4 separate regions of the Homo sapiens genome follow, and all the other regions are linked to region 2. The links are contacts of gene promoters, found by promoter capture Hi-C in blood cells and fetal thymus (Javierre and others, 2016). All regions are on one chromosome and are shown on one strand. Each heading gives the region's core, a stretch centred on a gene start or on the middle of the fragment in contact. The rest is flanking DNA. Distances are from core to core; before and after follow the strand shown. Region 1 has its middle 18 kb from the start of NCOA1. Region 2 holds the start of PTRHD1 (peptidyl-tRNA hydrolase domain containing 1). Region 3 overlaps NCOA1 (nuclear receptor coactivator 1). Region 4 overlaps LOC105374329 (a long non-coding RNA gene).

Region 1 (7,310 bases), core at 4,631-7,130, 320 kb after region 2:
TGGGAAGCAGCACCTGCAGCAACTCCCTAAGGCCCCAGAATGCAGTACAAGAGCTTTCTAAAAGCCTTGTCTGGGTACAGGGAGGGTGCCATTAAGAGAATGAAAGCATTTTGGACAATATATAGATGGCACGGGGTCATCACTGTGAAGATTGTAGACCAGAAGCCAACAGAATGGTAATTTAGAAAAATGAGTTAAGTAGCACTGTAGGAGCAGAGTTAGAAAGGATAACATATCCAGACATGATTTTTTTTTTTTTTTTGAGATGGAGTCTCGCTCTTGTTGCCCAGGCTGGAGTGCAATGGCTTGATCTCGGCTCACTGCAACCTCCGCCTCCTGGGTTCAAGCAATTCTCCTGCCTCAGCCTCCCGAGTAGCTGGGATTACAGGCCTGTGCCACCACGCCCGGCTAATTTTTTGTATTTTTAGTAGAAACAGGGTTTCACTATGTTAGCCAGGCTGGTCTCAAACTCCTGACCTCAGATGACCTGCCTGCCTCGGCCTCCCAAAGTGCTGGGATTACAGGCGTGAGCCACCTTGACTGGCCCAAGCCTTTTTTTTTTTTTTTTTTTTTTTGTGACAGAGTCTCAGTCTGTCGCCCAGGCTGGAGTGCAGTGGCGCCATCTTGGCTCACTGCAACCTTTGCCTCCTGGGTTCAAGTGGTTCTCCTGCCTCAGCCTCCTGAGTAGCTGGGACTACAGGTGCGTCCCAAGACTGGCAAATTTTGTGCCCGTGTTAGCCAGGGTGGTCTTGATCTCCTGAACTCGTGATCCACCCGCCACGGCTTCCCAAAGTGCTGGGATTACAGGCGTGAGCCACCGTGCCCAGCTGACATGATTTTTAAAGTTATAAAAATCAATTTGAAAACACCAAGTTTGGCTTTTCTTTGCTCACCATAATACCTAACAGGCAGTTCTTGGTTAATATTAGTTAATGTTAAATGTGAAATGAATGGCCTCTGCAAAGTGATTGCTTTTGTTCTAACACTAAGAATATCTCCTAGAATAAAGTAATCCATAAATATTGTGGTTTATACATCAAATTTCTATGAGTTTGACCAATATGAGTCTCTTCTTTGCAACCTAATAATTCTTGGATGAACGAATAGCACTGGGTTTCCAAACTTTCCAGGTTGACGGTCTGATGCTGGATTAATTATTTGCTGGAACGCAATATGAATAGATCCTTGCTATGATGCAAAAATTAATCTATTGAAAGGATATAGGACAGGTCAGAGAATAAAAAGATTTGTTGGATAATTTGGCCTCAAGAGGCCAGACCCAAAGAAGCTTCAAGGATCGTAGCAGCAGGGACTTGTAACTGTCTTTCTATGGCACTGCTGTCAGATAATGTAGCTTCATCACCTTCTGTGTCAGTGTTTCAGCTGGTTTCAGCAACCAGCTCGAAACTTAAATTCCTGGGGGAAAAAAGTGTTATTGGCCAAACAAAGATCAAACATCAACCTCTATGTTGGGAGTAGACAGCAGGGTTTTGTGACTGACAAACCTGTCAAAACCACGTATTGGATGTCCAGCAGCAGCCTCCAAGGAAGGAATTCTAGGAAGACAAAAAATAATTGATATGCATTCTGGGCATTTCCATTTAGATATTTACCCTCAAAGGAGGATGAACAGGTGATTAGATAAGATGCTGCATAAGGGCCTTTCCACCTCTGAGAAGTCTACACATTAGAATTGATATTTATCATTCCAGAGACCAAATCCTACAGATAAAGATGAATTCGTGGACTTGGAGCTTATCTACACGGGTCTTATTTCCTAGAAGTTTTCAATATTTTTTCAATATGTCTGCATGATCTGGTGATTTAAATTTTTCTGATTACAGCATAAAATAGTATAGAATTTAGAATACATATAGAAAAATACACAGATCATAAGTGCCGAGCTCAAAGAATTGTCACAAAGTGAATAATATGTGTAATCAGAACCCAGATTGAGAAATAAAATCTGACCAGCAACCCAGAACATCCCCTGATGCCCCCACTTCCCCCAACAAAGGTAACTGCTAAACTAACTTCTATCTCCATCAGTAAGTTTTGCCTTGTTTGGGGCTTTATATAAGTTGAATTGTATATTTTGTGCTCTTTTGTGCCTGGTTTCTTTCATTCAACATTACGTTTTATGAGATTCACCCATGATGCTACAAGTAATTTGTTTTTTCTCTTTGCTGTGTGGTATTTTGTTTTATGAGTACGGTGCTGCTTATCCATTCCACTGTTAATGAACATTCTTTCCTGTTTTTGACTATTACTAATAGTGCTGCTATGAACATTCTCATACATGTTTTTTTGTGAATATATCCGCTCATTTCTGCTGGATATATATCAAGCCTGGGTATATATCAAGGAGTGGAACTGCTAGTTCAAAGAGTATGTGTTATATAGGTTCAGCATTCATAGGTAGTACTAACAGTTATTCAAAGTGGTTGTACAGGTTTGTGTTTTTATTTATTTATTTTTATTTTATTATTATTATTATTTTTGAGACAGAGTCACGCTCTGTCGCCCAGGCTAGAGTGCAGTGGCACGATCTCGGCTCACTGCAACCTCTGTCTCCTGGGTTCAAGCGATTCTCCTGCCTCAACCGCCTGAGTAGGTGGGACTACAGGTGCGAGCTACCACACTCAGCTAATTTTTCTTTTTCCTTTTTTTTTTTTTTTTTTTTGTATTTTTAGTAGAGACAGGGTTTCGCCATGTTGGCCAGGCTGGTCTTGAACTCCTGACCTCAACTGATCCACCCGCCTCAGCCTCCCAAAGTGCTGGAGTGCAGTGGCACGATCTCGGCCTCCTGGGTTCAAGCGATTCTCCTGCCTCAGCCTCCTGAGTAGCTGAGACTACAAGCATCTGCCACCACGCCCAGCTAATTTTTGTATTTTTAGTAGAGACGGGGTTTCACCATATTGGCCAGGCTGGTCTTGAACTCATGACCTTGTGATCTGCCCACCTCAGCCTCCTAAAGTGCTGGGATTACCAGGCATGAGCCACCGAGCCCGGCCCAGATTTATGTTTTTAATAGCAGTGCGTACAAATTCCAGTTGTTCCACATCCTTGACAATTCTTTATTTTAACCAGTCTGGTAGGTGTGCAATATCTTATTGTGATGTTAATTTAGATTCCTCAGATGACTCATGAAGTGGAGTATCTTTTCATATGTTTAAGGGCCATTTGAAATGCTCTTTTTTGAGGTGCCCGTCAAAATCTTTTGCCCACCTTCTGATTGTATTGTCTCTTTTTCTTATTGATCTGTAGGGGTTCTTTATATATTCTGGACAAAAATCCTTCTTGGGATATATATATTACATATGTCTTCTCTCATTATGTGGTTTTCCTTTTTACTCTCTTAATCTTATCATTTGATGATCTTAAGTTCTTAAAATTAATGTTTTTTAGTTTTGTTGGCTTTTCTTTTCTTCTTCTTCTTTTTTTTTTTTTTTTTTGGCATGGCCTTTCTCTGTTGCCCAGGCTGGAGTACAGTGACATAATACAGTGACATAATCATAGCTCCCTGCAGCCTTGAACATCTTGGCTCAAGCTATCCTCCTGCTTCAGCCTTCCAAGTAGCTGGGACTATAGTCATGCACCACCACATCCAGCTAATTTTAGAATTTTTTTGTAGAGATGGGGATCTCACTACTCACTATGTTGCCCAGGCTGGGCTCAAACAATCCTCCCACCTAAGCCTCCCAATGTTCTGTGATTACAGGTGTGAGCCACCACACCCTGCCTGGCTTTTCCTTTAGGCTTAGTGCTCTTAGTGTACTGCTTGAAAAATTTTAGACAGAGCAATTATAGTAGTTGGAAAAATAGTATAGGTCCATACAAAACTAAAAATAAATTAAGAACAAAAAACATGGCATTCATTAACTTCAAGAAAAAAATCAAACTAGAAACAAGACATAATCACAATATACTACTTGGTTCAACAGTGACAATTATTTACACAATTATAATACAATCCTTGACTACTGATTTATCCAAAAATTATGATAACTTTTTGAGGTCTCTGTGGGGGCCCAATAAGTAACAACCATCTTCCCAACCTGAGTTCTGAACAAATGGAAAAATAATGCAAAAGAGTGGCAGAGAGAGGTTAAATGTCACCTTTATTATAATCGATTAGAGGCCAAGTTGCAGAGTGTGGCATCAAGTGTTTTTGCAAAGTGGGATGGTTAAGACAAAACCAGACATAGATGGAATTACCCCCTCAGTCACATACGCCATGCTGGATCAAGGCGGGCCTTCTCACATGAGTCCTTCATGGTGCCCATGCAGCTGGCAGGAGCCCCTTTGGGTCAGCAGATGATTGTTTGACATCCAACACCACTAGATTTTCAAGGGAGTAGTTTAGTTTAAAAAGGAAGAAACTTTATCTATAATTCTTCTGGTAAAATGAAAATCACTCTAGGCAGGTATTCATGTAGGAGTATTTTTTTTATTTCAGCTTTTATTTTAGATACGAGGGGGTACATGTACAGGTTTGTTACGTGGGTATATGGAACCCAGATAGGAGCATAGTACCCAATGGGTAGTTTTTCAATCCATGCCCCACCGCCTCCCCTCCCCCTTTAGTAGCCTGCAGTGTCTATTGCTCCCATGTTTATGTCTGTGGGAGCTCAATGTTTAGCTCCCACTTGTAAGTGAGAACATGCAGTATTTGGTTTTCTGTTCTTGCATTAATTTGCTTAGATTATGGCCACCAGCTCCATCTATGCTGCTGCAAAGGACATGATCTCATTCTTTTTTATGGCTGCATAGTATTCCATCATGTATCTCTACCATATATATTTTTTTTATCCAACCCACCATTGATGGGCCCCTAGGTTGATCCCATGCCTTTACTATGTATGAAATGTGGCAATGTACATACAAGCACATGTGTCTTTTTGGTATACTGATCTATTTTAGGAGTATGTTTTCATTAAGATGTACCTAATGCTATAAAAAATAAACTCCTGGCCAGGCGCAGTGGCTCATGCCTGTAATCCCAGCAATTTGGGAGGCTGAGGCGGGCAGATCACCTGAGGTCTGGAGTTTGAGACCAGCCTGACCAACATGGAGAAACCCCGTCACTACTAAAAATACAAAATTAGCTGGGCGTGGTGGAGCGTGCCTGTAAACCCAGCTACTAGGGAGGCTGAGGCGGGAGAATCCCTTGAACCTGGGAGGCAGAGGTTGCAGTGCGCCAAGATCACACCATCGCACTCCAGCCTGGGCAACAAGAGCGAAACTCCGTCTCAAAAAAAAAAAAAAAACTCTCCTAAATTTATGTCTCAACCACAATATAAATTGAGTTATTAATGATATAACAGGCCAAGTCACGTGTTCCTCATCAGTGGAGGCAGCTCTGCCATTTTCACAGTTGACTTCCAAGGTTGCACTAGTCCTTTCAGTATACAGAAACATGGGAGGGAGGTTCTTACGGGCCAGGCATAGAAGTGCCACTCATTTCCACTCATGTTCGACTGGCGAGAGACCTAACTGCAAGGGAAGCTGGGAAATGTAGTCTAGCTATGAGTGCAGGAAGAAGAGGAGCCTACAAATTTTGGTGAACAGCTGTCTCTGCCACTGGATGTAAGGTTCATGTGGGCAGGGGCTTTTTTGTTCCTTATTGCCTCTTGTGAGTGACTCATAGTGGGCATTCGATAAATGTTTGTTGAATAAATAATGTAGTGGGAAGAACATGGGCATTGAAATAAAAAAGACCAGAATCCTAACCCGAGCTCTGCCACTTCGTAATTGTATTAATTTAGACAAGTTACTTAAATTTCTCAAGGCTCAATTTGTCATGTATAACGGAGATGAAAATATACTTGTGATCTGCTTCCCAGGCCATACTAGCCAGATGTGAGAATAGGTAGTAGCTGAAATTATGCCGACAAAAATAATAATAGTGGCTGGGCTCAGTGGTTCATGCCTGTAATCTCAGAATTTTGCAGACTGAGGCAGAAGGATTGCTTGAGCCCAGGAGTTCAAGACCAGCCTGGGCATCATAATGAGACCCCCATCACCACAGAAAATTTAAAAATTAACTGGGCGTGGTGGCCTGCATCTGTAGTCCCAGCTACTTGGGAGGCTGAGGCAGGAGGATTGCTTGAGTCCAGAAGTTCAAGACCAGGCTGGGCAACATAACAAGAACCTGTCTCTATTATTTAAAAAAAAAATTTTTTTAATAGTTATCATTTCCCTGGTCCTGCTTCCTCACTAATATTTCTGAAATAGGTCTCTGATTTCCTCCCAAATTACTCTGAGAGTGAGGAAGGGGATGTAACATGGAGAGAGTGGTTCTCTCATATATATATATTTTTAAATTTTATTATTATTATTATCATTATTTTGAGAAGGAGTCTCGCTCTGTCGCCCAGGCTGGAGTGCAGTGGCGCGATCTCGGCTCACTGCAAGCTCCGCCTCCTGGGTTCATGCCATTCTCCTGCCTCAGCCTCCTGAGTAGCTGGGACTACAGGCGCCCGCCACCACACCCGGCTAATTTTTTTTGTATTTTTAGTAGAGATGGGGTTTCACCGTGTTAGCCAGGATGGTTCTCGATCTCCTGACCTCATGATCCACCCGCCTCGGCCTCCCAAAGTGCTGGGATTACAGGCATGAGCCACCACACCTGGCCTCTTCTTCTTTTTTAAAATGTATTCTTAAAGCACTATATTTGTCCAAGCAGCCAATAGCGTCTCCATTTCCCTGTTTTCTGCCTCTGGCACCCTGGAGTGGCCAGATGGTCAAGGCTTGGGCTGAGGCTACAGGTTCCCAATGCCTTCATGCTCCCAGATCACTACGTGCTCTCGGTTCCTTCCAGAGCCCCATGGCTCTGCCACGTACGCTGCCCAGCAAGGGTGCTCCAGGTCATACTATCTTGCCTTAATAGCTTTCAATTGCAGTGGCTTTGTTTGTTTGCTTCTATTCTTTTATTCAATCTCACTAGACTAAGGCAGAAATCCCCAGAGCAGAGACAGCATATAATGTTAGCGACAAGCAGCTTACAATATTCATGACATCCCTCCCACTTTCACCCAAATTTGCCCCATTGTCCTTAGAATGAGCTCTTTCTCTGGACTTCCTTGATTCTTGAAGCAAATAGATTCCCTCCCAACAGACTTCCAGACATTTATAGATCTGTCAGAACTCTGGGCTGAACCTAGGTTTGTCGGCCTAGCTGGGATTCCCTGCACCCCACCCCTGTGCTTTTCTGCTTTGCAGGGTTGATGTTGGCATTCAATTAGATAAAGTAGGTAAAATACCAGAGTTGTTGGTGGCATCAAAAAGGTACACAGTACATGTTGCTT
Region 2 (7,460 bases), core at 1,834-4,333:
ACTGAACCTTAAAGTTCCAAAATCAGGGACCGTGTGCATTTGTGTTCACCCATGGATCCCTTAACCCTAGCACAAAGTGTTTACACATGGTAAACACTCCGGAAATGGTTATTTTTTTCTGAGACGAAATCTCACTCTGTTGCCCAAGCTGGAGTGCAGTGGCGCGATCTCAGCTCACTGCAACCTCTACCTCCCAGGTTCAAGCAATTCTCCTGCTTCAGCCTCCCAATTAGCTGGGACTACAGGCATGCACCACGATGCCCGGCTAATTTTTGTATTTTTAGTAGAGATGGGGTTTCACTATGTTAGCCAGACTGGTCTTGAACTCCTGACCTTGTGATCCACCCGCTTTGGCCTCCCAAAGTGCTGGGATTACAGGTGTGAGCCACCGCGCCCGGCCAACACTCCGGAAATGTTTACCGAAACACGGACAACCAGGCATGACACTCTTGGAGATTACATTCACTTGGCTCATGTCCACAGAAAAACCCACATTACCGCAATAATAATCGTGAGAAACCAAAATTCTAATTAAATAAATTAGTCCTAATAATTAGCACGTGATTAACTGCTTTATTCACCAATCTCTATTTATCCAACAACTATGCATTGAGAATTTACTATGGACCAAGGACCGTGCTGGAAGTTATTCATACTGTGGTGGCAAAACGAAGTCCCTGTCCTCACGGAGCTTACAAAAATTAATGTCCAACCAGGAGGTGATCTGAAAAGCACGCACACATAGAATAATTTAGGGTGGTAGAGGAGACGCCTCACCAAATTCTACTTTATGGAAATTCTATATTACTAAAACAGTAGATATCAATATTCCCAAAGTTTCTGAGATAAGTAGGTGTTCAAAACAGTATCATGCTGCTCCTTCTCTAGGCACTTCCACACAGCCCTCTTCTCAGGCTCTCAAACCTGCCCAGCTTCTTTACCGACCTGATTCCCTCTACACCAAGGGGGTAGCGTTGTTGTTTAGCGTTGCTACTACAGAAAAGAGGGAGTGTATCTGCTGGGCCTGCTTTACCTTGGAAGTTATGATTGCATCTCATCCTAGCCAGTCAGCTTTGTCCCAAAAAAAGTCAAAATCCCTGCCTATTTGAATAAATCATCTGGTTGCAACTACAACTCCATGTCCTTCCTTCTCAAATGAGTGGGGAGAATTCAAATAATAAGCAAAAAACTGAAATCAAACAAGCAGAGGGATAAAACCAGTATGGGTAACAGCTAAGTGTTTAAATATTGTTTTGGGTAGAGAATAAGGAGACTGGTCTAAGTCTCTTGATAATCCAAAACTTCCACCTCATCACTTACTTTAACAGAAATGAAATAAGGCCTGGACTAGAGAACAGGTTACTCCTGAGTGTAGCATGTTTCCACTACATAAAGTCACCAAACTTATTTTTAGTCTTAAAGTAACAATAAATCTTACCCCATATACTTTTATTATCTAAAGTCTCAGCTTAAGTCATCTTAGGCTGAATATAGTTACTTCTCTGTTATCAATGATAATGATGACCCAGAGAAAAATAGGATAACCAAATTCACTGACGCGCTCAGAAATTCTTTTTAAAACTGTAATTTAAGTTAGGTTTTATGGCAAGCTTTCCCAAAGTACTAACGTAGAACCCTTTGGATTTAGGCATCAGGCTTGAGTAAGTATTTCAAAGTTCTAAAAAGTATTAGTAGCAAAGAACATAAAGTCACACAAAACCAGAACTGTCCACAAATATTACTAGGCACTAAAGAAGAAAGCAACTTACTCCTGGACAGAAATTCAAACGCAAATCTCAGTTTCCAAAGGATTGACTAAGGACTAAGTAAAAGTAATAGTTTCGTAATTCTAAGCAACTCTAACAAGCATTCTTTAAACACCTTCTACATTTTAAGACACAAAGTATGTAAAGAATTAAGCCTTTCATTGAATATTTCCTATATATTAGACATGTGCTAAATGCTTCACTTGAAAAGTCTGAGTTCAATACTTTTCCACCACAAAAGAAATACTTTTTCCACAACCACAACTACAGTGCTATTTTCACCTCCATTTTCCAGATGAAGAAACAGAGGCAGAGAATAAAGTGACTTGCCTAAGGTCACAATATTTATCATGGCAGAGCCAACACTCAAAACCAGTTCTAGCCAACACTAAAGTCACTGCCCTACACTGGCCCTCCCTCAAGAGTAATGCATACATGGCCCAAAAAATCCGGGGAGAGGAAAGGGACCTCCCTGGCTAGAACCGCAGTTCAGAATATAAACACTGAGCATATGATGGATGCAACTTATCCGTTTCAAAAGGGGTGGGAGCCTAGAAACGAAGCCATTTTTCCTCCTCGAATAATCTTGGCTGCCTGTCCCTTTGTCTTCAATGTTAGTTCCTTTCACTATTCTGCTCCCAAACAGGCCAGGTCCCACGTCAGTTCCAGGAGGAAAGGGCTCTCTCAGCCTGCGGGTCATCTTTGGGCAGCAGCAGGAAGGAGGCGGCGACCCTCTGAATACCTCCTTTGGACTCGCCATCTGGACGTAAAGGGTTCGCCTGCTCCATCTCAGATTCCCAAGGGCCTTCCCATGAAGTTGTCTAGGCAACCGGTGATAGGGACTCCAATGTCCTTGCTAATAAAAGAAAAATGGCAACAGTCACATCACATCTAGTCCCATTCAAACCCAGACGGCAGGGCACACACCACTCAGGCACAACCCCTGGGCCGCGGATGACACAAATGTCACGGCTAGGATCCCCTTTCCTGAGCCGCCCGCCCTCTCCCATCGTCCGAGCCAGCAGAGTCCATGCCCACCCCCGCGCCCATCCCGCGGCCCCGGCGCGCTCCCGAGGCCACGGCTACTCTGGTCCAGCGGGCTTCCCGGCCACGGAAGGAGTTTTAAGAAGGCCGTTCAGCCCGCCACCCTGGCCACGGTCCGGTCCGACAATGGGTCTTTCCCCTACCTTCTCCCTTCTAGCTCACCCAGGCCAGAAGCGAGAATTCCCGCCATCCACGTCTTCAAAACCAAACCAACCGGTCCCGGCGTGCTTTGCGATCCTGCCGTACAAAAGCATGGCGGCGCTCAGGGCCCCGCCCTGATCCCAAGATGCACCGGGGAGTAGGTCCGGCCTTTCGGGTGGTCAGGAAGATGGCGGCCTCTGGGGCGGAGCCGCAGGTCCTGGTACAATACTTGGTGTTACGAAAGGATCTATCACAAGCTCCGTTCTCCTGGCCGGCGGGCGCACTGGTAGCGCAGGCTTGTCACGCGGCCACCGCGGCCTTGCACACTCACCGCGACCACCCGCACACAGCCGCTTACCTCCAAGAGCTGGGGCGCATGCGCAAAGTGGTCCTCGAGGTGAGGCACTCGGGCGGAGGGGGAGGTGCTGAGACATCGAGGGCGGAAGTGGGTGTGGTCTTCGGTCCGAAGGCCTGGCTGCGGGGAGTGGGTGCGGCGGGAGTTGGGGTGATCGTTAACATTTAGACTGGAGCTGTTTCCCTGGAGGTGCGCCCTTGGGAAGGGCCTGACTGTGTGAAGAGTGGACAGCAGTCCTCCGCCCCCTGCTGGGCTCGCGGTAAAGTGGTGGCTCCTGTGTCCCCGCTGTTCCGCCTGTGCACTGGCCGACTTTTTAAAGCCATGCCCCAAAGTGCTGTCCTCCTGCAAAACCGAGCCCGAAGGGACAGTGCAAAGTGAAGTCAAACTGAGTATTTACCTGGGTAGGACGCCAAATTATTTGAAAATAAATACTAAAAACGTTAGTATAAATTGAACCTAGCTTCAGCTAGACCAGGCACCAGGTGTGTAAATCGGTACACCTTTTAAAATAGCAGTCAGGTTCTGTTTGCAGATGACCAAACAAATCTCACCCTTACCCTTTGACTCTCTATCCTGCTGCTAGAGATGTAGCCTAAGAAAATAATCAGATGCACCCAAAGAGCTTTGCACAAGGATATTCATGGGAGCCCTTATGGTTTTGAAGCATATTTAGTGGTCGGGAAGAGTGCTCATGATGCGAAGCTAACTGAACTATATATACAGAATGATCCAGACTTTGAAAGGAAAAACTAAAGAAATACATCTACATATTAAGTAGTGCATGGTGAGATTTTGGTTATTTCCTAATGCTTAATCTGTATTTTTAAAATTTTCTACCTTAAGCACATATTTTATAATAAGGAAAAACGGCTTTAATAATAAACGGCTTTTTATAATAAGGAAAAACGGCTTTAAGCCAGAACTCAGGTGGAGGGGTGGAGTAATCCCTTCATGGGTAACTGACAAAGATAGATTATCTTTCAAGAGAAAAATTGCTGCTGGATAGTGAAACATCAAGCGGTAACCTGTAGGAAAAATGCCTTGAGAATCTGTGTAGGCAGAACAGAAGCTGCTGGCTTTTCACTTAGATTTTCTTCCTAGTAAGAGGTCTCAAGAAATCAGGTTAGACTCCTCTTGTCGCAGGTGAAACTCTCTGAAGCCTACAGGGATTAAGTGACTCCCCTGAGTTTAAAAGAGGGTCTCATGATTCTTAGTTGTTAGTCATGACTCAAGAAAGGGACTTAGGAGTCGCTACTGATTACATTGAGGTGCCGCTGTAGTCAGAAGGGCCAATAAAATATAAGAAAATACCAGGATTAACTACATTTATTGAGTGCTTAGTGTGTGCCAGGCACAGGTCCAAGCCTGATTTCATTGATCCCCATTAGGAAGCATTATTCCTGTTTTATAAAGGGACGAAGAGGCCAGCGAAGTCACCTAACTTATCCACGATCACACAGTCAGCAAGAGTTTGGAGTCCAGTAGTCTGATTCCAGAGCCTCACTGTATCTCACTATGCTCTGCTGCTGCCCGAGGCTGAAGAAGCTGATGAGTCCTCCAGCAGAGCTCTGCCAGAAGGACTCAGCAGGTTAAGAGTCGCAATACTGGCATTCTCTAATTTATTAAAACAAGCCTCTGAGTAGCTTAGTGGCTTCTGCCTTCATAGGTAAGAGATAAACTTTATGCAAAATAACACAAAAATAATAATTTTCTGAGTGATCGTTTTAATACTTCCTGGAATGGGATTCAGCATGGGTGAATTGGCAGTAAGGATGACCCAGAAACAATTTCAGAAGGATGTTAGAGAATATTGTACTCTCCCTTTAATAAACAAGTGGGAGCCATCCCAGCAGAAGGAAAACCCCTCTAGGTTTCAGTGAGGTAGAGTGGGAGGGGTGGAGGAAAGTGGAAGTGGATGTGCTTTTAGAAATCCTTCCACTAGGGGCCGGGCATGGTGGCTCACTCCTGTAATCCTAGCACTTTGGGAGGCTTAGGTGGGTGGATTGCTTGAGGTCAGGAGCTCCAGACCAGCCTGGGCAACATGGTGAAACCCCGTCTCTACTAAAAATACAAAAATTAGCCAGGTGTAGTGGTGTGCGCCTGTAATCCCAGCTACTCGGGAGGCTGAGGCAGGAGAATTGCTTGAACTCGGGAGCCAGAGACTGCAGTGAGCTGATAATCGTGCCACTGCACTCTAGCCCAGGCGACAGAGCAAGACTCTGTCTCAAAAGAAAAAAAAAAAAAAACTTCCACTAGGCAGCTCTTAAAGTCAGAGGCACTTAAAATTATGGGCGCCAGCCATAGGAGAGCTGGAAAATGTATAGAGCAGAATTACACATTACACATGTGTGTGTTGGGCATACAACATCTCACAAGGGAAGATACAAATCTCCATTTTCTAAACTGGAATATGAAGCCTCTCTCCCCTCCCCAGTGCACCACGGAATGACATCATTGCTCTGCAGCTCCCTCCTTGGTAAAGCTGTTACTCCACTTTCAGGCAAGAGGACTCCCGAAACCTTTTTTGGCCTTTTGACACTTCCTAAGTGGGCTATTCAGTTTGTGTTCTGTGTTCTTCTCCTTTAGGCCCCAGATGAGACCACCCTAAAGGAGCTGGCCGAGACCCTGCAACAGAAGAACATTGACCACATGCTGTGGCTTGAGCAACCAGAGAATATCGCCACTTGTATTGCTCTCCGGCCCTACCCCAAGGAAGAAGTGGGCCAGTATTTGAAGAAGTTCCGATTGTTCAAGTAACTGCTGCTTTGATGTGTTTGAATACGCAGGCCACCCATTCCAAAGCATCATGTGTTCCTTGCAGTGTCAGCTTGCTCCCGTCTTTCAGTTGTGACAATTTCTTGAGGGTTAAGCACATGTTCATATTAAAGTTGTCATTAATAACTACTTCCTCTTATTAATAAGTTCAAGTGGGGAAGGTGGGAGAGCAGTATTGTCTGGGGATCATTGCTCAAATAGAAGATTTGGTTAGACTCTCCTGTGGGGCTCAAGGAAACTCCCTTCCAGTCACTCGGGTTTGAAACTTTGCTTTTGAATTCCTTCTTATTCACATCCAGTTATCATATTTCATTGAATCTAAGATAACATCAACTTTAAGATGCGGTAGTATTTTATGTATTGTTAAAAAATATGCCGGCAAATTAAACACTTGTATTTCAATAACAAAGATGTTAAAATTTGGCCAGTGTGGTGGCTCACATCTGTTAATTCCAGGGTTTTGGGAAGCCAAGGCAGGAGGATCGCTTGAGCCCATGAGTTCAAGGTTACAGTCAGTTCTAATCATGCCACCGCACTCCAGCCTGGGCAACAGAGTGAGACACTGTCTCTATAAAGATTAATAACAAGTTAAAATTTGTGTGTGTCTATATATATGTACATACATACAGATTTATTAGATTCAATGAAATCTGTCAAGTACTACAGCTGTTTTCTTGTCATTTCAGTGCCGTTGCCCTGTGTCAGCCTCTCATTTTGCTCACTGGCGTGTCCCACGGTCTGTTCACCGCCAGTGTGACACTCCAATCCAGCAGCTGCTTTGCCACCACATAGGACGACTGAACACCTACCTGTGTAGTCTAGGCTCCTCTCTGCCTATGGAGTAATCCCAGCACTCCTTAGCTTAGACTTCAGGCCCTCCTCATGTGTATTTCCTACCTATCTTTTTTGTTTTTTCGAGATGGAGTCTCTCTCTGTTGCCCAGGCTGGAGTGCAGTGGCGCCATCTCTGCTCACTGCAACCTGCGCCTCCTGGGTTCAAGCCATTCTCCTGCCTCAGCCTCCCGAGTAGCTGGGATTACAGGTGCATGCCACCATAGCTGGCTAATTTTTGTGTTTTTTTAGTAGAGACGGGGTTTCACCATGTTGGCCAAGCTGGTCTCCAATTCCTGACCTCAGGTGATCCGCCAGCCTCGGACTCCCAAAGTGCTGGGATTACAGGTGTGAGCTACCGTGCCCGGCCTCCTACTTATCTTTTTAGTTGAATCTTCTATTCCCTTATTCAAACTTGATGTTTCCACAGAGTCCCTCCAGTTGCTATTCTCCAGTCTCTGGCATGGGAGTTGAATGTTACTACTCCTCCCCTCCCTTTCCTGCCCCTGGACTTTACTTAAACTATTTCCAGCTCAAGTGCTATCACTG
Region 3 (7,199 bases), core at 3,070-5,569, 280 kb after region 2:
CACCAGAGTGACTGCCTGCTGACTGAGCTAAGGCTCTTCCTTAGTAAGAGCTTCTGAGGCACTAACAAAGAGCAGAAGTAGAACTAAAAGAATAACTTCTTTCTTGAAGGAGCTTCACTGAGGGCTTCTGTTTTTTGTTTGTTTTGTTTTTAACTCCTGGTTCTATAAATTATAGACTAGCTTTAGGAAAAAAACTGAATAAAGTTATAAATCTAGACTAACTTTCAGAAGCCCACCAAATTAATAGCTTTTGTTTAGGGATAGTATTACGTATAGGTAGTCATTGCTTACTTTACTTGCTCTACAGGTTTTTTCTCCCTCCTACTTTTTAACATTTCCCCCTAGTTTCCATAATGTTCCAATATTCTTTTCATAACTTTGGACCAATAATTCAATAATGCAAATAAGCAAGCAAGAAAACAAGACAGCCTTCCTCCAAGTAATATAACATGAATCACTCTTAATCACTCAAAATGCCAAAAGTAGAGATAAATTATTAAAAGGTTGCCAAAGGCCGGGCACAGTGACTCACATCTGTAATACCCAGAACTCTAGGAGGCCGTGGCAGGAGGACTGCTTGAGCCCAAGAGTTTTGAGACCAGCCTGGGCAACATAGTGAGAACCCATCTCTAAAAAAAAGTTTTAAAATATTAGCTGGGCATGGTAGTGTGAACCTGTAGTCCCAGCTACTTGGGAGGCTGAGATGGGAGGACTGCTTGAGCCTGGTAGGCGGAGGTTGCAGTGAGCCATGATCGCGCCACTGCACTCCAGCCTGGGTAACAGACCCAGACCCTGTCTCAAAAAAATAATAAAAATGAAAATAAATAAAAGGGTGCCAAAATAAATGACCCCAAAATAAGTTGTTCCTAAATGCACCTTTAGTAATTTAGGAACGCCATACAAAACATGTTTTTAACAAAAAATTTTTGAAAACAAAAATAATCTTTTTTAGATAAGTTCTTTCTCAATGCTAAATTAGATTAAACAACTTTGGTAACTTATTCCAATGCCTGGAGTCCAAGCAAAGGTCACAGATTGATAAGCACTCTTCTGGCTCACACACTTGCTTCTTAATCCAATGAATCCGTACCATCTCTGTCTTTAAGCTATGGATAACTAATGTAACTTTATTAATTCTGCATATTCACCTAACATTCATTATACTACACTTAATATTTACTTTGCATTAAATTATCCTAGATGTCTTTAACATCAAAATCTTAAGCCATATAAATTTATCTATTTATACGTTTACTTTTTTTTCTTGTTTTTTTTGAGACACTCTGCCCTGTCACCCAGGCTGGAGCACAGTGGCACAATCACCACTCACTGCAGTCTCGACCTCCCAAGCTTAAGCGATCCTCCCACCTCAGAGGCACACCAACACAATCGGCTAGTTTTCGTATTTTTGTAGATATGGAGTTTCCCCATGTTGCCCAGGCTGGTCTCAAACCCCTGGGCTCAAGTGGTCCGCCTGCCTCAGTCTCCCAAAGTGCTAAGATTACGGTTGTGAGCTACCACACCTGGTCCTATATTCACATTTTATTACAGATTATCCTATGCTTATTTTATTAATCTCTTAATAATATTTATTTTAAGTCACAATTGCCAGATACTCACTTTACTTGCTCACATAGAGCTTAATCGAGTAATATATAGGTAATGAAGACTATTACCAATGCTTATGTGACTCAGAGATAAAAAAATTTTGCTATTTTTCTTTTTTTCTTTTTGTTTTTTTCCTTTTTTTTTTTTTTTTTTTTTGAGACAGAGTCTCACTCTGTTGCCCAGGCTGGAGTGCAGTGGCGTGATCTCAGCTCACTGCAACCTCCACCTCCCGGGTTCAAGATTCTCCCACCTCAGCCTCCCGAGTAGCTGGGACTACAGGTGTGTGCCACCACACCCGGCTAATTTTTTGTATTTTTAGTAGAGACAGGGTTTCACAGTGTTAGCCAGGATGGTCTCGATCTCCTGACCTCGTGATCCGCCTGCCTCGGCCTCCCAAAGTGCTGAGATTACAGGCATGAGCCACCGCACCTGGCCTAAAAATTTGCTAGTTTTTAAGTAAACTGGTCAAATGAATTCTGGGTGGCTTTATACCAGAATAAGTTAGTCATAGATCCTGAGCCACACAGTATCAGAAGCCTGTTCATTTGCTAGAATAAATGTTTTCTACACATACCAAGTCCTCCTACAGTTGGCCGGAGAAATTGCTGACCCTAACAGCTGCTAACCATCTAGAACCTTATGAATCCCATTTTAGATAATGCTAAGAAATGAAACACTAGAAATGTTTGAGGAATGTAAAACTCTCACACTCTGACAGTAATGTTTAAATTGGTATATTTTATTAAATAATGTCAAATTATTCTCCAAAGTTGAAGATGCATATACTTTTCAACCAGATTCCAATCCTATACGCAAGCACATATGTACACGTGTGCACGCACACACACACACACATTTTCCTTACAAGCTCTCTATAGAAATGCACATATGTTCACAACCAGTATGTTCAGGAATGTTGACTACAGCATTGTCTAATAATAAAACATGGAAATTACCTAATAACCACCCAGAGGAGCGTGAGTAAGTAAATTGTGATGTAGCCATGAAATAGAAATTGCAGGAAAAAAAGGATGAGAAAAAAAAAGGGTACTGCAAGAGCATATTGCAGTATAGTATGTATCTGAGGTTTAAAACATGCAAAACAATTACATTATATATAGATAACAAATATATTCAGAACAATGTTTCCTCTGGGGAATGTGGAAGGGGTAAAAGAAAGAGGGTACAGAGAAGGCTGAACTCCACAATGTTTTACTTCTTTTTTAAAAAATCTGAAATAAGGCAAAATGTTAAGATCTAAGTTGGGCAGAAGGTGCACGGAATGATTTTTCCACTATTCTTTTCTGCATGTTTGAAATATTTCCTATCAATTCAGGATATCAAGACATCTGAACTGGACGGATGCTAACAAATAGCTAATATCTGACTAAGTAAGGCCAGCAAAGAAGTACTTGTGACAGAAGGCTGTTTTCGCAAGCCTTACTTTCATCTGTGTGTGGTAGAGCCATATGCACCCACACACACAAATCATTTCATTTAATCATCCAATACTGCAAAAATGGAGGAATTAACTCCATTCAACAGAAAAGCGAGTTGAGATCAAAGAAACGGTGTTTTGGCTAAGGTTACGCAGCCAAGCAGTCAGAGATGAGTCCAGATCTATAGGTGCAAAGCACATTTCACAACTGTAGTGTTTCAAAGGAACAGGAGATGCACTTAGAAACTCTTGTTAGAGAGGGGTTTCACTGATAACAAACTCAAGATGAGCCCCAAAGATAGCATGGCTTCCATTAACAGCTTAATTCTGGGTTATATGAAAAGGAAAAACAAAAAAACTATCAGTCAATTACACTCTGTACCACGCTGCACCACTCTGCACATAAGTGAAGTTTAATTTTAGACTCTGAGTTTTAAGAGGACCTTGATAAAATGGGTAGTCATTACCAAGGGCAACATTCCAACTGAAAAAAAGAATAAACTTTCTAGCCATTAGAGCTTTTAAAAACTGAACTGAATTGCTTTAGGAATACAAGCATTTCTCCTACTGCACCGGTGGATATAATGCTCTCATTTAATTATAAAACACTGTGGGTTTTGATCCAATCACCAACTCTCTTTAATTTAAACTGCTAAAAGCAAAATAACTTATTAAACCTATTGAGCTCCTAAACCCCTGTTCCTTCTGAAACTTTTTTTATTTATAAAATGATGTTTGAATAGGTAAGACTTCTTAATATAACTATTGTATTATAGTACAACACACTTCAGTGAACTAACCACCTCTAAAACTGTTCAAACAGTTGAAAGCTCTTCTGTCACAGATGCAGAGGGCTCTACTCTAAGAGATTCAACTGCATAATCAATAAACATCCTCCTAACTTTCACATTCTACGATAAGTGCAAAAGTTAGTACAGTTTCGGTACAGCAAATACTTAGCAGGGAGTCGAGGGTGAAACAAATGAAGTGGCAGAATCATATAGTGATTAAAATATTATCAAGCAAGGTGGAAACTGAAAGTGCTACTGATGTATGTATTTGGAATATAATGAGCTTTTGTCCCCACTGTAAAAAAAAATTGGGATCTAACTCATACCATATAGAAAAATTAACTAAAAATATATCAGACCTAAATGTAAGCACTAAAACTCTTAGAAAAAAAAGACATAAATTTTTGTGACCTTGGATTAGACAATGGTTTCTTCAATATGGCACCAAAAGCATAAGAAGGAACAAAATCAATAAATTGGACTTATCAAAATTAGAAATGTTTGTCCCTCAAAGAATAACCACCAAGAAAGTAAAAAGACAAACTACAGGATGGGAGAATATATTTGCAAATCATATATCTGATAAAGGACTTGCATCCAGAATATATAAAGAATTCTTACAATTCAGTACAAAAGACAACACAATTTTAAAATAAGCAAAAGATCTGAAGAGACATTTCTTCAAGGAAAATGTACAAATGGCCAAAAAGCATATGCAAAACTATTCAACATAGTCATTAGGGAAATGCAAATCAACAATTATAGTGAGATGCCACTTCACTGGAGAATGTGGAGAAATCAGAACCCTCATACACTGCTGCTGGGAATGTAAAATGGTGCAGCCACTTTGTAAAACAGTTTTGCCGTTCTCACAATGTTAAACACAATTATCATATGACCCCGCAATTCATATACTCAAGACAAATGAAAACATATGTCCATGCAAAAACTTGTACATGAAAGTTCAGAGAAGCATTATTCATAGTAGTCAAAATGGATTACAGTGGGACATTATTTGGCCATAAAAAGGAATCAAGTACTGATACATGCTACAACATGGATGAACCTCAAAAACATTACACTAAGTGAAAGAAGTCAGACAAAAGGTGAAATATTGTATGATTTCACTTACATGAAATGTACAAAATAGGCAAATCCATAGAGACAGCAAATAGATTAGTGGGTGCCTGTGGCTGAGGAAGGGAGGAATGGGGAGACACTGCTAACAGGCACGGAATTTCTTTCTGAGGAAACAAAAGTTTGATATTACACAATGGTGATGGTTGTACAACTTTGTGAATATACTAAAAGCTGCCAAATTGTACACTTTAACAGGGTGACTTATGGAATATGATTTATATCTCAAGAAAATGGGAAAACTTTGTTGGGAATACCAGAATGAAATACTAGATATTTCACCACAGTAAAGAGAATATGGCAATAAAGTCCCCAGAGTACAAAAAGAACTGCAAGAAGCAAAGTACCAAGAAAATGTGTCCAGGTCAAGCCCTAAGGCTTTCTGATAAACGCATTACCAAAGTTTACCGAAAATATAGTGCACTACCAGAGACAGTGGCTCACGCCTGTAATCCCAACAGTCTGGGATTACGAAGAGGCTGAGGCAGGAGGATCACTTGAAGCCAGGAGTTCAAAACCAGCCTGGGCAACACAGGGAGAACCCATCTTAACAAAAAATTTAAAAATTAGCTAGGCCAGGTAGTGCATGCCTGTAGTCCCAGTTACTTGGGAGGCCAAGATGGGTCACTTGAGCCCAGGAGTTTGAGGCTGCAGTCAGCTATGATCATGCCACTTCACTCCCATCTGGGCAACAGAGCAAGACCCCGTCTCCTTTAAGAAAAAAAGTGCAGCCGGGCGTGGTGGCTCACACCTGTAATCCCAGCACTTTGGGAGGCCAAGGCGGATCACTTAAAGTCAGGAGTTTGAGATCTGCCTGGCCAACATGGTGAAACCCCATCTCTACTAAAATTACAAAAACTTAACTGGGTGTGGTGGCAGATGCCTGTAATCCCAGCTACTGGGGAGGCTGAGGCAGGAGAATCACTTGAACCCGGGTGGCGTAGGTTGCAGTGAGCCAAGATCATGCCATTGCACTCCAGCCTGGGTGACAAGAGTGAAACTCCGTCTCAAAAAAAGTGCACAGTCCTACACTCTGCCCCAGGCAGGCAGACCTAAAGGTACCAACCTCACTCCTATTTCTTTCTTAGTCTGTCACACATGCAAATATTAGTGGTAAGTACTTTAATAGTTTTATTCATTATAAAATAGTTCAGACAAATAAAGAGGTACTGAAAATAATTTTAATATACATTATATACCCACTACCCAGCTAAAGAGATAAAATATTATACATTCAATTATAATTTCTCCTACTTTTAACAAATATTTGTCCTTTTAGAAAAAAGAATCTGAACTGTGACTATACTCTTTCTCTCTGTTAAACCCATCTGTACTAAGCCTACATATATGGCAAATGGAGTAAAACCAAGACATCATTGTTCACCCAGGGACTCTCAAGCAACCTCTGACATGCAACATTTACCACCTGTAAAATCTCTATCACTCTCAATTTTAACAAGAGAAGAAAACACTTCCACATTTCAACAGCAATAGTAATAGAAATGAAAGTCAGAAAATGACCACAGGGTTCTTTCCATCCAAACTTTTCACTGTCACTTAGTTATAGGCAAAGCCTCCACCATCCACCTTTCCTCATGAATGGTCATCCCAGCGTACTTCTCACTTTAATATCTATCTTATTTTTCAAGGCATTTTCACAAACAACATCTAATTGACCCCCAAAGTAGATAAGGCAGCTATTTGTATACCCACTTTTACAGATATAGAAGAACAAAGTGATTATGAGCACAAGACTGGAGTCAAGCAAGGGCTTGAACTCCCTGTTTCACTATTTCTTAGCAATGTGGCCTTGGACACTTTAATATTTCTGAACTGCAAAAATAAATATGATAATGTCTGGCTTACAGGATTGTTATAAAGATTAGATTACACAATGTATATAAAGCACTTAGCACATAATCTGGTACAAAACAAGCACTAAGTGAATGTAGCTGCTGCTGTCATTGTTGCTGATTTTGTTGATTACGCAAGATCAAACAGCTCCTACACAGAGGAGCCAAGACTGATACCTAGATCTTCTTGATTCCACACAATATTGCTTCATTCTCAAGTGGTCACACCAGGAGTCCTATTTGTACAAAGCAGACTCTATCATTTCCAGACAATGCCTCCCCATTTTCTTCTAGACAACATGGTGATCACTTTAGGATTTTAAGAAGCAAAAGCCAATAGTGATACCAACAACTGCTAACATCACAAAAGAT
Region 4 (6,858 bases), core at 661-3,160, 340 kb after region 2:
TACAGGAACTCTGTCCTATCTTTGCAACTTTTCTGTAAATCTAAAAGTATTCTAAAATTAAAAGTTTATTTTTAAAAACCTGGTTAGGGAAACAGTTGGGTACACAAATAGAAACACATCCATCCTTGTTGCCTGATTTATAGAAATAAAACCAGGCCTGCATAATAGGCAGCTTCCTAAGTGGTATGATTGTTTTATGAACTTCAGAAGCACAAAACTGGATTAATCACAGTTCTGATTCATATTAATAGTGTGTCATGAATCAAGGGCTATGACTGGCCCATTGGTTTTTAAATAAACCTCATTTCATTTATTTTCGTTGTATGTGTTATAATAATACAAGAAACCACTCATAACCCCACCTCTCAACCCAAAAGCCAAAAACTCTCCATGACATACATCGACCTACCTGTTCCATCCCATACCAGACCCCAACATTCTTCTCAGTAGTAACTATTCTTTTAAATTTTGTTTTTATCATACATTGCTCTTCTTTAAATTTCATTGCACATTTGCGTGGGCCTAAACAGTATACTAGTTTTATTTGTTTTGAATGTATTATATGTTGTCTTCTAGGACTTGTTCTTTTAGCTCAATACTATATTGCTAAGGTTGATCAATAATGTTGAGATCATACTCTATTCATTTTCACCATTGTGTAACACTCAATAGCAGGACTGTACCACAATTTATTTAACCATGTTTATCAGTGGTTTAATAAATTGTTGCTATTACAAATGGATTGTGCCATGAACATTTTTTTATGTGTGTTCTGGTAAACATATGCTAATGTTTTCATTGAACTAGAGATATGCAAGATTTAACAATCTTAAAACTGCATAAGAATTAAAGCTTGACAGTTCACTTACAGAAATTATGTTAAGCGTGTCTGGGGAAGAGCATATAATACAAATTCTTCACTACTGAAGCAAAGGAAAATATGAATTATACACTAATTTCACACCAGTTAGGATTTGATTTGTCTATAACATAAAACCCAAATTAATCATTCCTTAAACGTATATGTTGCCCTCATGTAAAACATCTGGAGATGAGAAGTCTAAGGCCAGTTTGGCAAGGTCTGCGGAATTGTCATGAACCCAGGCCTCTTCCAGCTTTTCAGTTTGCCATCCCTAGGGTGTGACTTTTATTCTTCTGGTCCAAAAGGGTTGCTCAACTTCTAGTCATTAAATCTGCCTCCTCATCAGCAAGAAGGAGAAAAGGAAGGAAGGAGAGTGCATCTTCCATTCAAGGACACTTTCCCCAAATTGCACGTGACATTTCTAATTGCATCCTATTAACTAGAAGGGGGACACACGGCTCTTGCTAGTTTCAAGGGAGGCTGGAAAATGTAGTCTTTATTCTGGTCATCTTGTATTCAGCTAAAAGTTAAGGGTCCTATTACCTAAACGAATGGGAAAATAGACTTTGAAAACAGTTAATAGTCTCGGAGAATTATTACAGCTAAAGTGAAAGCAGAAAAGAAACCAACCCATCAAGGCCTTATTTTGAGAAGTAGAAAGAAAAACTAAACACCGATAACATCACCACCCAGTGATGACCACGGTTAACTTGTTGAGATGTATTTTTCCAGACTTTTTCATCCATATAAAAAACTACATATATGTCTCCAGTATAGCCATAATAATACCTATATCTATACCAATATATTCACATGTATTAGTCTGTTTTCAAGCTGCTAATAAAGACATACCTGAGACTGGGTAATTTATACAGGAAAGAGGTTTAATGGACTTACAGTTCTACATGGCTGGGGATGCCTCACAATTATGGCAGAAGGCAAGGAGGAGCAAGTCAACGTCTTACATGGATGGCAGCAGGCAAATAGAGAGTTTCTACAGGGAAACTCCCATTTTTAAAACCATCAGATCTCATGAGACTTATTCACTGTCCTGGGAACAGCAGGGAAAAGACTTGCCCCCATGATTCAATTATCTCCCACCAGGTTCCTCCCACAACACGTGGGAATTCAAGATGAGATCTGGGCGGGGGACACAGCCAAACCATATCACCACACATTACTTTTAAAGGGAAAATTTAAATTAGTGCCATCAGTCAAAGGGAAAGATAGCTGGGTTGTTTTCCTCCCTCCTTAAATTCTTAATAAACTTCATGGGAAATGCAACATTGGAGCAACTAGAGAAAAGAGGAGAATGTGGTCCATAATTGAATGCTGATATTTCTCAGGGGTGCCAAATGCAAAATATTAATAACTTTAACTGCATACAGGATGCTCTGGAATAAAGATTTAGAGGTGAATTTAAAATAAAATAATTAGTCATCCCAGAAAACCACAGGCATGTCTTCAGTGGGGATGGTAGAAAACTTTGTGGACAGAAAAATTAATGGACACAAGAACTTTGGGGAAAGCCAGACTAATGGAGTTTTCTAGATCATAGGTTAAAAAGAGTTACAAGTATCAATAACTATTTACCCTGAAGCACACCTTACCAGATGAGCACATGCTAGGCTCTCTGTTCTCTGTTTAAAAGTCTCCTAGATAGTGAACCAACATGGCATATGACCTTTTGTTAAGAAAAAGGACTATTATACAGAGCTGCAAATTCACCCAACAAACACTTACTAGGACTTACTACATGTCAGGTACTTGAGTACAAAAAAAGAACATACCATGGTCCACATCTTCATGGAGACTGTAGTACAGTAAGGCAGACAAGCACCTATAAAGATGAATTGGCTGGGTACAGTGGCTCATGCCTGTAAATCTAGCACTTTGGGAGGCTGAGGTGGGTTGATTTCTTGAACCCAGGAGTTGGAGACCAGCCTGCGCAACGTGATGAAACCCCATCTCTTAAAAAAAAAAAGATGAATTGAAGTTTACTATGTGTCAGACACTGTACTAAGCACTTTACATGCATTGTCTGATTTAGCATTTATGACTATCTATTCTTACCCTCATTTGACAGATCAAGAAAATGAAGCTTATAGGTCAGGTAATTTGATTGAGGTCACAAAGCTAGTAAGTGGCAGAGCTAAGAATCTATGTCACATCTGTCTGACTTTAGAGTCACCACTCTGGGCCACTGAGCTAAACTGTCTTACAGCCCAAGTAGGCAGTGCTATAATAGAAGTTGGTACAAAATTCTGAAGGAACACAGAAAAAGCATCAAATATCTGCCAGGGGAACATTTATACAGTAGTGTCTTAGCCTGTTCAAGAAGCTATAACAAAATACTATACACTGAGTGGCTTATAAATAACAGAAATTTATTGCTCACAATTCTGGAGGCTGAAAGTCCAGGATCAAGGTGCTAGCAGATTTTACATCTGATGAGAACCCACTTTCTCATAGAAAGGCCATCTTGTCATTGTAACCTCACATGGCAGAAGGGGTGGGGATCTCTCTGAAACCTTTTTCATAACGGCATTAATTCCATTCAGGAGCATTCTGCCCTCATGACCTAATCACCTCTCAAAGGCCCCATCTCTAAATACCCTCACATTGGGTATTAGTTTCAAAATATGAATTCTGGGATGGGGGGGTGCACATAAACATTCAAAGCACACAAAGTAGCATAAAGATAAGAAAATATGAAGTCTAAATATAATGTCAGTAAGTGTTAAAATAAAGATCAATGTGAGCATTAATAAATGAATGGAAAATATGAGATTTCTTCCATAGAGCCCATTAAACCTGAATTTTATAGGTAGCTTTTCTTACTGTTTTTGGCTACACAGTTCGATTCTATATCATCTAATGCCTTTATCCTGTTTTAGTAGTTATTCATCTATTATTGACACCTTCATTTTTTTATCAAGCTATTTTCTCTCTTTTTTTTTTTTTTTGAGATGAGATCTCATTCTGCCACCCAAACTTGACTGCAGTGGCACAATCTTGGTTCATTACATCCTTGACCTCATAGACTCAAGTGATCCTCCTGCCTCAGCCTCCCAAGTGATCCTCCTGCCTCAGCCTCCCGAGTAGCTGGGACTACAGGCATGCCACCACACCCAGCTAATTTCCTTTTTTGGTATTTTTGGTAGAGACAGGGCTTTGTTATGTTGCCTAAGCTGGTCTTGAACTCATGGGCTCAAACAATCTGCTCACCTTGCCCTCCCAAAGTGCTGGGATTACAGGCATGAGGCACCATGCCCAGCCTCAAGCTGTTTTCTCCATATACACTGCCTCTACATAATTATCAGCTCATAGTCAGCAAAATGAACCATGTGTGATCCCTTTTAAAAAATCACTGACTAGGGTATATTCTAGCATACTTGGCACTTAGTACATGCTTGAGTTGAAGTGATAACCATTTATTTAAAATTGATTCAGAGTAATGTATATCAGAGATCAGCAGAGAAGATCCAACATATGGAAAATTGGAGTTTATAAAGACTGAAAACAAAACATTAAAACAGAATATTTAAAATTATAATTACCTAATAAAAATGTCTAGAAATAAAAGAATACCCGAATCTACCCATTGAAAGGAAGATACAGAGTTGAGTATGAAGACTAGGCAAGGGCCAGATCATGTAGATCCTTGTAGGCCACTGTGAGAAATTTAAACTTCAATCTGAACGCAATAAAAGTCCTTTGGAGGACTTCAATCAGAAGCACCAGCCTGGGCAATAGGGTGAGACCCCCAATCTCTAAAAATTAAAAATAAAAAAAATAGCCAGGCACGGTGTGTTGTCCTGTAGTCCCAGTTACTAGGGAAGATGAGGCAGGAGGATTGCTTGAGCCCAGTAGTTCAAGGTGAGGCTGCCTGGGTGACAGGGATTTTCTCTCTTAAAGGAAAAAAAGGAAGCACCATTGTTTACACAAAATAGGGAAGTAGAAATGTGTGTGGACTTGAAAAAAAACTAAATATGGGAATGAAGAAATGGTTTTATTTCACAACACAAGGCCTTTCCACTTCCACTTTAATGATGGCAATAGAGAATTGCACACATTCCTTCCATTTATCAAAATTTTCCCCATAAAGAGACTAACTTTATGCAAACTTTTTGGCATGAAAATGCTGGGCACTAAGAACAGCAAGCAATTTGTGGATTAAAGATATAAAATTAGCACTAGAATTGTTGAGATAAGCCTGGTTTATCCTGGCCAGATGATAAGCATGGGAAGTGGCTGGGTAATCAGAAACTAGTTGTCAAGTTAGAACAAGAGCTCCAAAATTATAACTCAGGATTGAGGACGAGACAGTGTGAGGAGGAAAATTCAGAAAACAAAGCTCAGGAGAAGGCCAGAACACTTTACACGGAGCATATCCTGGGAAATCAAAGGAAAAAAATGTCTATTAAAGGGAAGGGTGGTAGAAATGAGATTAGAGAAAAAAAAAATCAGAAAGATCAAAGAAAATCTGGTGCTTTCCATCCAAATCTGTACCTTAATGGATAGAGAAATATTAGGGGCTTCTCTGTCAAAGATTTCATTTTAACTTCACTGTTTATCTTATTTATTTATTTTTTTTTAATTCTTAAGTTTTCACCCTCTGTACTCAAATTATATGTAATTTTCGATTAAAACACTTACATGGATTGTTTTGGTTTTGACAACATGGAATATTAAGCTAATGTGAACTAACTCTCACTACAAATATACTAAAATGCTTTATAAAATAATACAAAAATTTAATTACATAGTCAAGACTGAGAGAAAGAAAGGAAAAAAGAAAAAAAAAAAAAGGAAACCACAAATCCCAAAAACAAAGAGTGATCCATATTAGTGCAGTAAATCCAATTATGCTGTAGTAAACTGGAAAAGTGGATATTTTTTGTGCCTTGAAGCTACAGAAATCCCCAAACTGGTCCAGGATCCATAAAATTTCTTAAGTCCTAGCAAGAGAAAATGTAAAACATCAAAGCAGAGTGACACTCACAGTTCAGGGCACTAAGATGAAGGAAAAAGAACACCTTCTTCAAAAGTTCACAAAATATAAAAGAGATGAATCAATGAACCAGCACGAGGGAGAGCTCATATGTACAACAATGGGAAGAATTTGTATCCTAAGAACTAGCTATCACAGCAAATCGGAAGGAGACTACTTACTACACTAAATATCTATTTAGGTTACAGTTATTAAGGAGTTGACATCAAATTTTAAAACTTCTACTCTGTAACTTCTGTGAGGATGATGAAAAGATAAGGCACGGACTGGGAGAAAATATTTGCAAACCACATATCCAACAAAGGACTTGTATCTAGAACATGTAGGAACTCTCAAAACAGTAAAAAAATAAAATGAAATAAAATAAAAATCTAATTTTAAAATGGGCAAAAGATATGCCCATATATTTCATTTGAAAATAAATACAGGGCTGGGTGCACTGGCTCACGCCTGTAATCCCAGCACTTTGGGAGGCCAAGGTGGGTGGATCACCTGAGGTCAGGAGCTCAAGACCAGCCTGGCCAAAGTGGTGAAACCCTGTCTCTACTAAAAATACAAAAATTAGCTGGGCATGTGGGTGCGCACCTGTAGTCCCAGCTACTTGGGAGGCTGAGGTGGGAGAATCACTTGAACCCAGGAGGCAGAGGTTGCAGTGAGCTAAGATGGCGCCACTGCACTCCAGCCTGGATGACAGAGTGAGACTCCGTCTCTAAATAAATAAATAAATGGAGTAAACTATCAATACATAGAACTTGAATGGATCGCTAGGGAATTATGCTGACTGAAAAAAGCCAATCTCCATAGGTTATATGCTGTATTATTCTACTCATAAAACATTCTTGAAATAACAAAATCGTAGAAGTAGAGAACAGATTAGTGGTTGCCAAGGGTTGGGGATAAGGCAGAAGCATGAGGCAAGTGCTGGTGGTTCTAAAGAGGCAGCATGCTGCAGCCTCGTGGTGATAGAACAGTTCTGTAACTT

What was found. The method cuts DNA at HindIII sites, captures the fragments that hold promoters and counts their contacts. A CHiCAGO score of 5 or more calls a contact.
Region 1: a contact is called between a fragment that was not itself captured here and the fragment with the promoter of PTRHD1 in region 2, in 1 of 17 cell types (neutrophils). The highest score is 6.6, in neutrophils.
Region 3: a fragment that was not itself captured here is called in contact with the fragment with the promoter of PTRHD1 in region 2 in 1 of 17 cell types (neutrophils); the score reaches 5.7 in neutrophils.
Region 4: a fragment that was not itself captured here is called in contact with the fragment with the promoter of PTRHD1 in region 2 in 8 of 17 cell types (neutrophils, megakaryocytes, erythroblasts and 5 more); the score reaches 14.0 in neutrophils.

The regions. Positions count from the first base shown.
Region 1 is chr2:24,470,044-24,477,353 of GRCh38, reverse strand. No RefSeq gene overlaps it. Among named protein-coding and RNA genes, the nearest start is that of NCOA1, 18 kb to the left of the region's middle. The HindIII fragment of the contact is 9,179 bases long and covers 1,291-7,310 here.
Region 2 is chr2:24,789,014-24,796,473 of GRCh38, reverse strand. PTRHD1 (peptidyl-tRNA hydrolase domain containing 1) reads left to right here and starts at 3,083. Exons shown (of 2, transcript NM_001013663.2): 1 at 3,083-3,348; 2 at 5,893-6,746. The coding sequence starts at 3,097. The coding sequence ends at 6,063. It overlaps CENPO (centromere protein O), which reads right to left and starts at 3,049. Exons shown (of 8, transcript NM_001322101.2): 1 at 2,973-3,049; 2 at 2,509-2,622. The coding sequence starts at 2,554. LOC105369164 (a long non-coding RNA gene) reads left to right here and starts at 3,399. Exons shown (of 3, transcript XR_939843.4): 1 at 3,399-3,707; 2 at 3,890-4,090; 3 at 4,695-5,882. RefSeq lists an enhancer at 2,993-3,422 and a silencer at 5,184-5,263. The HindIII fragment of the contact is 6,911 bases long and covers 1,613-7,460 here.
Region 3 is chr2:24,508,851-24,516,049 of GRCh38, reverse strand. All of the region lies in intron 1 of NCOA1 (nuclear receptor coactivator 1), which reads right to left. Among named protein-coding and RNA genes, the nearest start is that of NCOA1, 21 kb to the right of the region's middle. The HindIII fragment of the contact is 5,933 bases long and covers 1,353-7,199 here.
Region 4 is chr2:24,446,973-24,453,830 of GRCh38, reverse strand. The region is part of intron 2 of LOC105374329 (a long non-coding RNA gene); the gene reads right to left. Among named protein-coding and RNA genes, the nearest start is that of NCOA1, 41 kb to the left of the region's middle. The HindIII fragment of the contact is 2,111 bases long and covers 855-2,965 here.